Linked DNA regions of Homo sapiens: region 2 is linked to region 1. Evidence: promoter capture Hi-C in 16 types of primary human blood cells and fetal thymus (Javierre and others, 2016). All regions are on one chromosome and are shown on one strand. Each heading gives the region's core, a stretch centred on a gene start or on the middle of the fragment in contact. The rest is flanking DNA. Distances are from core to core; before and after follow the strand shown.

Region 1 (5,987 bases), core at 2,107-4,606:
TGAACTAAACATTTTCAGACAACAGTGGGCTATGAGAGCTCAGATGAGAGGAGGTTCACTTCTGTCTGGGAGGAGGAGGCAGGAATATTGTCAAGGAAGAAGTCACAGTTATTTGGGCCTTCAAAAGTAAGTGAGAATTAGAGACAAAGATTAAAGAGCTCATTCCAGTTGGAAAGAATATTTGAGAAATGGAGTAAGACAATAATAAGATTTAAAACCAATTTTTTTTTTTGAGATGGAGTTTCGCTCTTGTTGCCCAGGCTAGAGTGCAATGGCGTGATCTCAGCTCACCACAACCTCTGCCTCCTGGGTTCAAGCGATTCTCCTGCCTCTGCCTCCTGAGTAGCTGGGATTACAGGCATGCGCCACCATGCCCGGCTAATTTTGTATTTTTAGTAGAGACGGGGTTTCCCTATGTTGGTCAGGCTGTCTCGAACTCCTGACCTCAGGTGATCTGCCCGCCTCGGCCTCCCAAAGTGCTGGGATTACAAGCATGAGCTACCACGCCTGGCCAATAATAAGATTTTTAACCAAGTAAATTCATTCCTAGGATTAATCTAACTGGAGGAAAATGATTTGAAATTGAAGCTACTTCTTATTTGTACATATTATCTATCTAGGAGGATCTTATGAGCATTTGAAATGTCTACTCTTAGGAAAATTTTGAATAAATTATGGTACTTTAAATGTAATGCAGACCTATATGGTGATAAATATGAGGAAGTAGAAAATCTTAAAAATACAATCTTAAGTAAAAATAGAATATTTAATAACAAGGGCTTATGATTGCATTTATGTAAAACCTTTATTCTTGTGGGAAAGGATTAGACAATAATAGGCACAGATAAAAACATTTGTCTTAGAATATGAAATTATAAGTGTTTATTCTCTTAAAACTTTTTAATGTTGTAAAATGAATTTCTAATAATAATTTTAGAAGGCATTGCACAGAGGCAGAAAAAATGGGATATGTTTAGGAACTTGCACATAGCCTGGACTGGCCTAGATGAAGCATGGAAATTGGTGAGAGAGAAGGTGGCTGGAAAGATAAGTCAAAGCCAGTTTATGGAGGCTTTTGAATGACGTGCTAGAGAATATACACTTGTTTTTGGTAGGCAGAGAATATACATTTGTTTTTTGGCAGTCAGACCATGAAGACATGGAAGCCTTGCAAACAATGAAGTAATAAGGACAGAACATAAAGAAAGATTTCTCTCACAATGTTGGTTGTAGTATTGGTTGATGAGGGAAAAGAACTAAGAGAAACCAACGAAAGGACTCCTACAATAGTCCATATGGGAGGCATTATCAACCTGAACTGGTTTGGTGGCAGCAGAAATGAAAAAGCAGCAGCAGACACGAGAGATATTGAAAACTTGTATCAAAACAACCTGTCAACTAATCAAACATTGAAGGGTGAGGGAGAGGAAGAGTTCAAAAGTGAATCTGAAATTTTATTCCCGAGAACCAGAGGTCAGAAAAAGCTGGGGTCAGAAAGTGAAGCTTGTTGGCCGGAAATGAGAAATTCCTCTTTGGATGTGCTGAGGGTGAAGTGCTTGCAAGATGTCCAGTGGGGGGAAAAAAAAAACAAAACCTAAGAAAGTAAGTCTTGAGTTTCGGAGAGTAATCAGAAATAATAATGTAGTGCTGGCTAGTCTTCTTACTGGTAATAGTTAAAGCTGTGACAGAAGGCAAGATCATTAAAATTGCGAAGATAATTTTTTTAAAAAAAGAAGAGCCTGAGATATATCTATATTTAGGAATGAGAAGGAGGAAGAGAAGGTAACAGTAACTAAGAAAGAGAAATTAGTTAAGTTAAGGGAATCAGGTAAGTTTAGTGTCATGGAAGCCAAAGGAGAAGAGAGTTTCAGAAAGGAAATGATCAGCAGTGACAAAGGCTGCAGACAGATCCTAAGAAATGAATTAAAGATATTTTGGACTTGGACCTAAGGGCGTGCCTCAGAGAGACATGTCAGTAGAAGAGTGGTAGAAGCCAGATGGGAAAGCAACAGGTGGAGTGATGAATGAGAAAGAACAGGCAGGTAGAACAAGTCACACCTTTGAGAAGTTCAGCATCACACTAAAGAAGAAAGGTGGAATTTGAGGTATTGGCAAAATTGAAGGGACATTTCAGGATGAGAGATGCATTGAAAATGAGGCAGGAAAAGAAGAAACAATTCTCCTCGGAATGAGGAGTGAATAGGAGGGAAAATTTGACATTGATGAAGCTAAGGTAGAATGATTTTTAGTAAAGTAGGAGGTAAGAGCATCTGCTGAGAGGGAATGTGACAATTTGGTGACCTGGAGAGAAAAATCTGCAAGAGTCACTGTGGAAAGTAAACGAAAGGACTTCAATACATTGGAAAACGGTACTTTAAAGAAATAGCAGCTTTAAAGGTGATATTTCTTCCAATTTAGTCTCAAGACTGTGCAATCTGGAATCCTCCTCTATCTTCATTCTGGTCAAATCAGTGTCTCACCTTGGTGACCTAGCGCATGGTTTCTTTACATCTAATATCCTTACCACTTTTATCTAATAATTTCTACCTTTTATCCAAATCTCACATCTTCTGTAGAAACTTCCTTGATTAACTCAACCTGTTGTAGTTTAGTTCCTTTTCTGAAACTCTTCTGGGACTTTCAGTATTTATTACAGAAAAAGTGAAGTTCTCAGAAAGAATTGCCTTTTAATAGCAATCTTCTGAGCACACAAATCTTAACCTTGAGGATTAGTAGCTTAATTGGACTATGTAAGTGCTTGTGGTCTTTTTAGATCTATGCGAGAGGAAACATGGCCGGTCCTTCATTGCGTTCTTCTGAGCGCACTGGATAGATCAATTTTTGGAGGCCCTCTGGTGCCTGACATGTAGTAGCAGTTAACATTTGCTGAACTCCAAATACGTTCTAGATAACTCAGCACATAGTGGAAACCCAATGCATGTTTGATAAATTCCCCACCTTTTGTAATTCCTTGGGGTGGGATAGAGACGAGCTCTGGGCAAGAATATCAGTTTTCAAACTCCAGGAAAGCATACTGGACCTAGTGTCATGGAAAGTGGATCATTTTTGCGGAGGCTCTCTGAACCTCGCAGTATCCAAGGTTTCCAGGCTAGCTGGACTGTGTCTTGCCATAACCCTTATGTGTTTATGAAAAGAAAAAAGAATTCTGGCTTCAAATTCAAATTACCTTTCCACTTAGGGGAAATGGTTGGCAGAGGAGAAAATAAACGATTGCGACATGTTACGAAGAATGAGGACTAGCAAAGAGGAAGGAGCTTAGGTAAACAGTGCTGCTTTATTTCTGCTGTTAATCATTCATTGGGCCCGTCAAAAGTTTCTGCCCATCTATTTCCATCAACCGTCCTTGACCAGCCAACCACATGGCTGAAATTCAGGGACTCTTTGGTGGAGCAATTACCAGTCAACTTCAGGGTATTATGATAAACTCTGATCTGGGGAGGAACCAGGACTACATAGATCAAGGCAGTTTTCTTCTTTGAGAAACTATCCCAGATATCATCATAGAGTCTTCTGCTCTTCCTCAACTACCAAAGGTCGGTGGACTACTAAACCCTTGGGGAAGCTTGGAGGAAAGGCTGGTGGTTTGGCCCTTTAAGGAGTGCAGGATTAGAAGGATAAAACAGAGACAAAAGCTTGGAGGTGTTTTCAGCAGAAATCTTTTCAGGAGCACTGTATTAGGGGGATGTAAGACTTGAGACGTACTTTAAACCCTATCTGAACCTCAAGTTTTAAAAATTATAAATGGAGGAATAATATTGCATTCTAATAAAATAAGCTAAAGAAGAAGAGGTGTAAGGTGTTGCTCTTGTTACTGTATCTAAAAGACAGATGTGTTGGTTTGTTGATCTTTCACCACCTTCCCACATCAGAGTTGAGGCAAGGGGTCAATCAGACTTTTCAAAGGGTTCACAGGAAGCTTGCTTTTCTTAGTCTACATTCTGAAAACTGGGGCCATTTCTATTTTGAGATTTGATTAACCACTCCAAATCTCCTCCACCACTGACAGCAAAGATGTTTAGATTTGGTAATAAGGAGGACACTGGCCAGCCTCCAGTTGGTTTCTGAAGCTAGCAGTCTTAGTCGTCCTCATCTTCTTTACTTTCTGAATTTGACGATGCTGATAACCCTTCCTTCTTGAAATTCTCTTCTTCCTTGGTTGGCCAGGATACAGTACCATTCTGGTCCTCATTTTAATTCTTCAACCACTTGTCTCTTTGCTGATTCCTATTCTATCTCTAAATATGGTAACACCAAAAGAATAAAAAGTAGACTACAGAAGAGGCAGAAGCATCAAAGAAGGTTGGCATTAAGCTTAGAGATATGTTTGAATGTAGTATGAGCACAGAATAAAGGGGCTGATAGAAAAATAAAGAGATTTGGCCAGGTACGGTGGCTCACTCCTGTAATCCCAGCACTTTGGGAGGCCGAGGCTGGCGGATCACCTGAGGTCGGGAGTTCGAGACCAGCCTGACCAACATGGAGAACCCCTGTCTCTACTAAAATTACAAAATTAGCCAGGCATGGTGGCACATGTCTGTAATCCCAGCTACTTGGGAGGCTGAGGCAGGAGGATCATTTGAACCAGGGAGGCAGAGGTTGGGGTGAGCTGAGATCGTGCCATTGCACTCTAGTCTGGGCAACAAGAGTGAAACTCCACCTCAAAAAAAAAAAAAAAAGAAAAAAAAAAGAGATTCTAGGAAGGGTGGGGAAAGTGTGGGAGCCAGTTCTTTCTGGAGTTTGTAAGTGATATAATTGAGAGCCCAGGTATAAGGAAGAAGACACTCAGCCCGAGACTGGAGAAAAATACTATCCTTTCACAAGGTATCTGCATTTTAAAAGGGGGAAGTTAGACAAAATAAATATTAACTTAAAAAGTAACTTCTCATGGAAGGAGAAATTTGAGGACTAAAGATTTTTCCAGTGACTCTCAAATTGCACTGCATTGCTAAGTGCTGATATTATTTTTCACAAGGGACCCGCCATGCTGACTAAAGTTCTTGAGTTGGTTCCATTTCTGCAGGAATTTAAAAGGTGAAGTCCTTGAAATATGAAAGTTGGCTAGAGTAGTCTCAGCTTTTCAGTGAGCAGTTACAGAATTGCAGAATTTGTTCATCTAGGTTTAATGTCATTATTTTAGAGATGGAGGGAACTGATATCCAAGAAGCTGATATAGCTTCTTCAAGATCACAGACTTAGACTGTGGTATTGCTGGAACTCCAACTTGTGTCTTCTCAGCTCGCAAGTTCTAGCCTCCATTCCCATACTCTGTGGCCAGCTGGTTTCTGCTGAGGGACCACCAGGAGTAGTTATGGTGAACTGCAAATGCCGTAGTTGGAGAAGAGTTAGGATGCATCCTGATGGTTTGTTAGGGAAGTCTAGTCACTGTATTATCTCTCTTCAAAACTGACAAAGCATTTCACACACATTATTTCATTTGGTCCTCAGTGAGACAGTCATTCTCATTCTAAAGATAAAATTAAATTGACTTTCATTCCTTTTAGATTTATTATTGTTTATTCTGTCTTATTCCTTCCTCCGTGTAAGTTTTTTTTTTTTTTTTGAAACGGAGTCTCGCTTTGTTGCCCAGACTGGAGTGCGGTGGTGCAATCTCTGCTCACTGCAAGCTCCGTCTCCCGGGTTCACAGGCCATTCTCCTGCCTCAGCCTCCCGAGTAGCTGGGACTACAGGCGCCCGCCACCACGCCCAGCTAATTTTTTGTCTTTTTAGTAGAGACAGGGTTTCACCGTGTTAGCCAGGATGGTCTCGACTTCCTGACCTCGTGATCTGCCTGCCTTGGCCTCCCAAAGTGCTGGGATTACAGGCGTGAGCCACTGCACCCGGCCTCCTCTGTGTAAGTTTTAAGCTAGTTAAATTCTGGTGCTCAAATTAGGTCTTTCTAAAGGCAGTGAAAGAAATCTCTGCGAAATAAGGAGGAACTCTTTTCTCTTCCTCTGCATCTGCAAAAA
Region 2 (5,987 bases), core at 1,883-4,382, 540 kb after region 1:
AACATGGTTCTTTTTTTTTTTTTTTTTTTTTTTTGAGATAAAGTCTTGCTCTGTCACCAGGCTGGAGTGCAGTGGCGCAATCTTGACTCACTGCAACCTCCGCCTCCCAGGTTCAAGCAATTCCCCTGCCTCAGCCTCCTGAGTAGCTGGGACTACAGGTGTGCGCCACCACGCCCAGCTAATTTTTTGTATTTTAGTACAGACGGGGTTTCACCATGTTGGCCAGGATGGTCTAGATCTCCTGACCTCGTGATCTGCCCACCTCGGCCTCCCAAAGTGCTGGGATTACAGGCATGAGCCACCGCGCCCAGCCCTAACATCAAATTTTAAAAGAGTTGGCCACAGTTTAATGACATCCCTGCACACCAGCCTCCACCCATACTGCCCTTCATAAGCCCCTTAAAGGAGATCCCATAGTTCTAAACCGGGTCCACAAACACAGATATCCTCATTCTCTCCTTTTCTTCTCTTTGGCAGTTTGACAAAATCTTTAGGGGGAATTGGAGGAAACATTAATTTCCTAAATCAACTTCATTCAAAGCTTTGGCTTCAAGTTCTACCCGTTAAGGCCTCAGGAAGTTCATTGTCGACATTGAACTCAGTCACTAAAATGACCTCAAGGCTAAGGGATAGACCACAGCTCCACTTCACAAGTAAGCTTGCAACACCTGATTTAGGAAAGTTTGCTGTGCAGACAGTTGTAGCTCATCCATTTTACAGACCGATCTCGATTTGTTTCCTAGGGTCTAAAATTATTTAAATCAAAATCTCTCAGAAATTTCTGGACATTTAATAAATTCATGCTGGAGGAGAACTGGCAGAGATATGTTAAATGCACTTGACCACAAGAACCATTTATTTCATCCAATATTTACCAGCTATTCATTGTACACTTACTACAGATTTTGGCACTGGAGATATTATAAGAAAGCTCTAACCCTGACTTATGGAACTTATCCCAAAAAATAGGAAACAAGGCTCAGAACCATTCAAATGAAGCTTCAGTTAACTCAAATAAAAATTAGTTTTATAAATTTAATGTGAAAGTCTTCGAGTATATTAAGAATGGCTTGATTAACCCCAGGGATGGAAATTTTACTGATTGAAAGAAAGTTTCAATAAAATACCGATCTTTGAATCTAATCTGACACCTGAAACTAGGAAATCAAACACTAGCCATATTTTTTCTTCTATTCTTTATAATAATTTTTCTCATGAGAAAAAGGTATCTTTCTTCCAAGCCTGAAAATAAATGGAGAATTTTTAATATCTATTGATGTGGAGAAAAATAAATAGACTATCTGCTTTCACAAATAAGTGCTGGCATTGAGCCACAGAACATGTCTGTCATATTGCTCTTTCACACCATACATTAACAGGAATAATAATTTCTCCTCATTGAGTTTCCTATTTACTATCCCCTTAATTATACCTCCTTTAATTACTGTCATAGAGTGTCTGAATTTTATAATCCAAGATACTAAGATGTTTATTTGATATACCACCAGACTCAATGTCTTGTATTCTATGCCAAAAATTTGAAAATGTTTGGGAAGAGGAAATTCCGTGGTTTGGTGAACCCAGAAAGTCTTCAGTACATCTCAGTTATAGAACTGTATTAAATACATTTAAACTCTATAATTCCATAAGACCCATTTTAGGTTTATACACTAAGCATCTAATTCCTCACTATCCTCTCATACAAACCCTGTGTAATACAAGTTCTACTCCCATAATTCTATGAACAAAACAACAATTGATACATAGATTTGATTTTTAAAATACATTTTCTTTACCTTATTCTAAATGTAACATAGGGTCAACATAGAAAAAGAAAACTGAAAAGCACAAGGAAAGTGAAATATCTATAATCTTAACCATTGTTAATTTTGTTGTGTTCCAAATTAGTGTATGTATATATATATATATATATATAGCATTTTTGTTTTAATAAAAGGACTGCCAAAATGCACATGCCAATTTGGACTCTGCTTTTTCCACTTACAATGATATCATAGTTTCTCACATTTGGTATTCTTTTGCAATACTTGCTGCATAGAATTCCATCACACAAAGGTAACTGCCTCCTTATTACTTTTGCTAGACACTTAGGGTTTACATTTTTTACAAAAATTATAAATCTTTGATCACAGCTCTGATGATTTCTCTGGGAACTGAGAGCCTAACACAAGTCATTTCCACTTTAAGACTTTTAACATTCTGAAAAGTTATGTTACAAACAGAGTGCTGGTCCCCCTGCAACATGTTCACTCACATTGGCTGACGTTTTAATTCTTTGCCAATCTGAGGGGAAGAGATGTCAACTTTTTTTGTTTGCTCTTTTAATGCCAGTCATGTTCCCTTTTTTTTTCCCCCTTTTACCAGTCATACTGGCTTACTCAGAACCCTACAAATCAATCCTGCTCATTCTTAATTTTCCAACATTGTTCCTGAGATTGTTTCACCAGAAAAGTTCTCCCCCTTATCCACTTCGCCTAACAATTTCTACCCATCCCAATCCTCCTGCATTTATTGCTTCCAGGAATTTGGCACTTAGGACACCCTTGTCCTTACATTGTTCATGCATGTATATTTCGTCTTCAATAAAACATTTAGTTGCTCAAGGGCAAGGGTCCCATAGAGTCTCAATATGCTAACGGCCTGGTGTTGCTTAATAATTTAGATTCTGACGGGTCCTCTCCAGGGAGGGGAGCAAAGGGCAAATTATCTTAGGGGCTGGGAGTGCAGAAGCCAAACCTTTGAGACTGTGAAAAGAAGACGGCGCCGAGACGATTCAGTAGCAGGCATTCAAGCAAGAAAAACTCAAATATTGTTCCCAATAATGCCTGACTAATGCCAAATACCAAGTAAGGGCCCAGGCAGTCCTGACAGCCTGCAGTGCCCCAGGATAAAACTAACCCTGAGGGGTGCTAGCCCACGATAACCCCCTGCCAGGGCTCTGGACACGCCCTGTCTCCTCGAAGGCCAACGGGCTGCCCCTGCGCGCCGAGGCCCCGCCCCGCGGCCCGCCGATTGGCCCCAGCCGCCCCGGCGCTAAGACTCAATTTCACACTACGCGCCCAGGCCACGCCCACCTGTCATGCGGCCCTGGAAACTGTGAGTTTGGGGATTGTTGTGTCCACTAACCGGACTCAGAAGGGACTTCCCTGCTCGGCTGGCTTTCGGTTTCTCTGCTCACCTCCGGATAAATCACGGGGTCTCCCGCGCCGCTCATGGCGCCTCCCGTCCGTCTCGAGCGTCCCTTTCCTTCCCGGCGCTTTCCTGGGTTGCTTCTGGCGGCCCTGGTGTTGCTGCTGTCCTCCTTCTCCGGTAGGACCCCGGGGTGGATTCGCGCGTCCGCGGCGAGGCTAGAGCTCTGCTCAGTCAGTCGGGCAGGAGGCGCGGGGCGAAGCTCACTGCACGTCGTGCCTGCTTGGGATAGAGAGCGAGGCCAGGGTTCTCCGAGGGGTGCCGTGCTCAGATCCCGGGGGTATGTGGCGGGGGATGCGGGAACCACGCAGAAGCTTGTTTGGTGGCATCGTGTGCGCGGCCGACATTTACGCAGGATCTGGCTGCGTTCCCAAAAGAAGCGTGAATCGTGTTTTCGGGATTGAGCCCAGTCAGCAAGGGGAGGGCTTACTGGGCGCCCCAGGTGAGGGCTTGCTCTGGAGTGCACAGGTGCGTGGGATTGTTGCTAGAGCCCGTGCTGTGCCCGTGGTGAGAGTTTGCCCTGTGTTCCCTTGGTGCCTTGGTGAGTAGGGTGTTCATTAGGGCTTGGACAGTACCCGCGGTAAGGGTTGCAGTGCGTCTGCTGTGCCCCATGGGCTGGGCTGGCCTGGGCTGGGCTGGGCGAGCAGGGGCCTGGCCAGGTGTTGCTGGGAGCGTGCTGTGCGCAAGTGGCCTGTGTGCGGAGTTCACTGTGGGCAAGACAGCTCACTGTTTGCTTTGAGTGGAGCGAGCGCGGACTCTGCGGCTAGGGAGGGCATGTTGAGTGAGAGCAGGCTCTCAGTGCCTGGGGTTAGAGAGGTGGTAAGGGCGCACCATGCTTTTAGTGCCTTCTGTGAACAGTGTCCGTGTTGCCTGAGATCGTATTGGTCTTGAATTTTAAGTGGCTGCTTTTTTGGGGGGTGGGTGGGCCATCGAGTCATCTTCCTGTTCCCAACCAATATAGACAGTATCTGATTCCATTGCCTAGTGGCTTTTTGACATTGTTTTCCTTCTTTTCATTAGTTTGAGTCATATTTGAGAGATGTGAAGCAACCTAAAAAACACTGGTAGCCAAACCTAGTGAGAAATTAGTATCCTAACAAAGGAAGGCAGATAATGTTAATCTTGTTTTCCCCTACAGCTCATAAACTGAAGCTTAAGGCCTATCCCACTGTTTTGTATTTCATTGAATGGAATCAATATTTTTAAAAATGCATGCTAGGCCAGGCCCAGTTGCTCACACCTGTGATCCCAGCACTTTGGGAGGCCCAAGTTGGGTGATTGCTTAAGCCCAGGAGTTCAAGATCAGCCTGGACAACATGTCAAAACCCCATGTCTACAAAAAATAAAAAAATTAGATGGGCATGGTGGTGTATGCCCGTGGTCCCAACTACTCCAGAGGCTGAGGTGGGAGGATCGCTTGAGCCCAGGAGGAGAAGACTGCAGTGAGCTGTGATCATGCCACTGCACTCCAGCCTGGATGACAGTGTGAGACCCTGTCTCAAAAAAAAAAAAAAAAAAAAAAAAAGCCAAAAAATACATGCTTAAATACAGGCTTATTGTGCAAAATGAACAAAATAAAAGGACAACTGTTTTTAATATTTTGTTATATTTCCTTCTGACTTTATTGTGTTTCATGTGTATCTATGTCCAAATTATATTTAGGATCTTATTCCATGTACAGATTGTACGTTGCATTTCTTCTCTTAGGAACATTCATTCAACAAATATGGGTCTTGTATGTCTGGTGCTGTTACACTAGTAGGTAATAACAGACAATTCCTATTTTCTTTATCCTTTTTTTACTATTTGTTTACACACACGTACATGCAGGAAGATAAGCAGGGACTTTTTTTGCTCATTGTTAAGTGCTTAATGCCGGGAACACAGTAGGCAATCAACAGATGTTTGCTAAAATGTATTGGGAGTGGCAGACATTAACCAAAACATAATAGTAACAAATATATTAACCAGGGAAGTGTTCTGGAGGAAAGGAGTATAATTTTCTGACAGCATTTAACAAATGACTGGGGGGAGGGAAGGCTTTGCTTCTCATCAAACAGACAAAACTCTGCCACTTTGGGGCATCTGTGCTTTCTGTTCCCTCAGTCCTGGAACGTTCTCCCCATGACCTGCTGCATAAATGGGCTGTTTCTTCTGCAAGCTCAGCTGGAATGTTACCGCTTCAGAGACCTTCTTGGAACCCCCCAACTCAGGTTGAACACATACAACCCAGTTCAAGTACCTCTTGTAATCACCCTTTTAAAGTGATCTTTTCTGTTCTCTGTCTCTCCCCATCAGAATGCAGGAATCTTCTGTCTTCCCCCATTTGTGGTTCCAAAAGCCCCATTTGTTTGCTTCTGTATGAACCCTAACTCAGTATCCATATAGACATCTGTTAAATATCAGAAAATTAAATATACTATTTGGCTGGGGCTTAGAGCCTAGGAAAAAGTCCCTCCTGCCTCCAAGAGGAAGGTTCTTTAAAGAGCTATGCTCAGGATGGTCTTTCTGTTGTACCTAAAAAGCTAGGGCAGCAGCAGCTGAGGGCCAGAAAGGATCTGTCTCCCCTGTTTATGTTGACTCTGCAGGGCTTCCAGTACTTCAGTCTTGCATCTCACTGATCATTAAAACGTTCATTTTGAAGGAGGGTGATGGGATTAGGGAGCAGTGGTGTTAAGAAGAAAACGAAAGGACTTTTTTTTCTTTTTAAAGATTAATGTTTAGAATAGGCTTAGTACTAGAAGTACATACAGCCTGGGCATCATAAGGAGAGCCCA

The links. Contacts are between HindIII fragments. The CHiCAGO score rates a contact against its expected background, and 5 or more counts as called.
Region 2: a contact is called between the fragment with the promoter of CR1L here and the fragment with the promoter of C4BPA in region 1, in 16 of 17 cell types (total CD4 T cells, M2 macrophages, erythroblasts and 13 more). The highest score is 16.4, in total CD4 T cells.

The regions. Positions count from the first base shown.
Region 1 is chr1:207,100,877-207,106,863 of GRCh38, forward strand. C4BPA (complement component 4 binding protein alpha) reads left to right here and starts at 3,357. Exons shown (of 12, transcript NM_000715.4): 1 at 3,357-3,554. The HindIII fragment of the contact is 2,080 bases long and covers 1,502-3,581 here.
Region 2 is chr1:207,642,001-207,647,987 of GRCh38, forward strand. CR1L (complement C3b/C4b receptor 1 like) reads left to right here and starts at 3,133. Exons shown (of 12, transcript NM_175710.2): 1 at 3,133-3,330. The coding sequence starts at 3,234. It also overlaps the pseudogene CD46P1. RefSeq lists a silencer at 2,933-3,102 and an enhancer at 3,163-3,242. The HindIII fragment of the contact is 2,525 bases long and covers 998-3,522 here.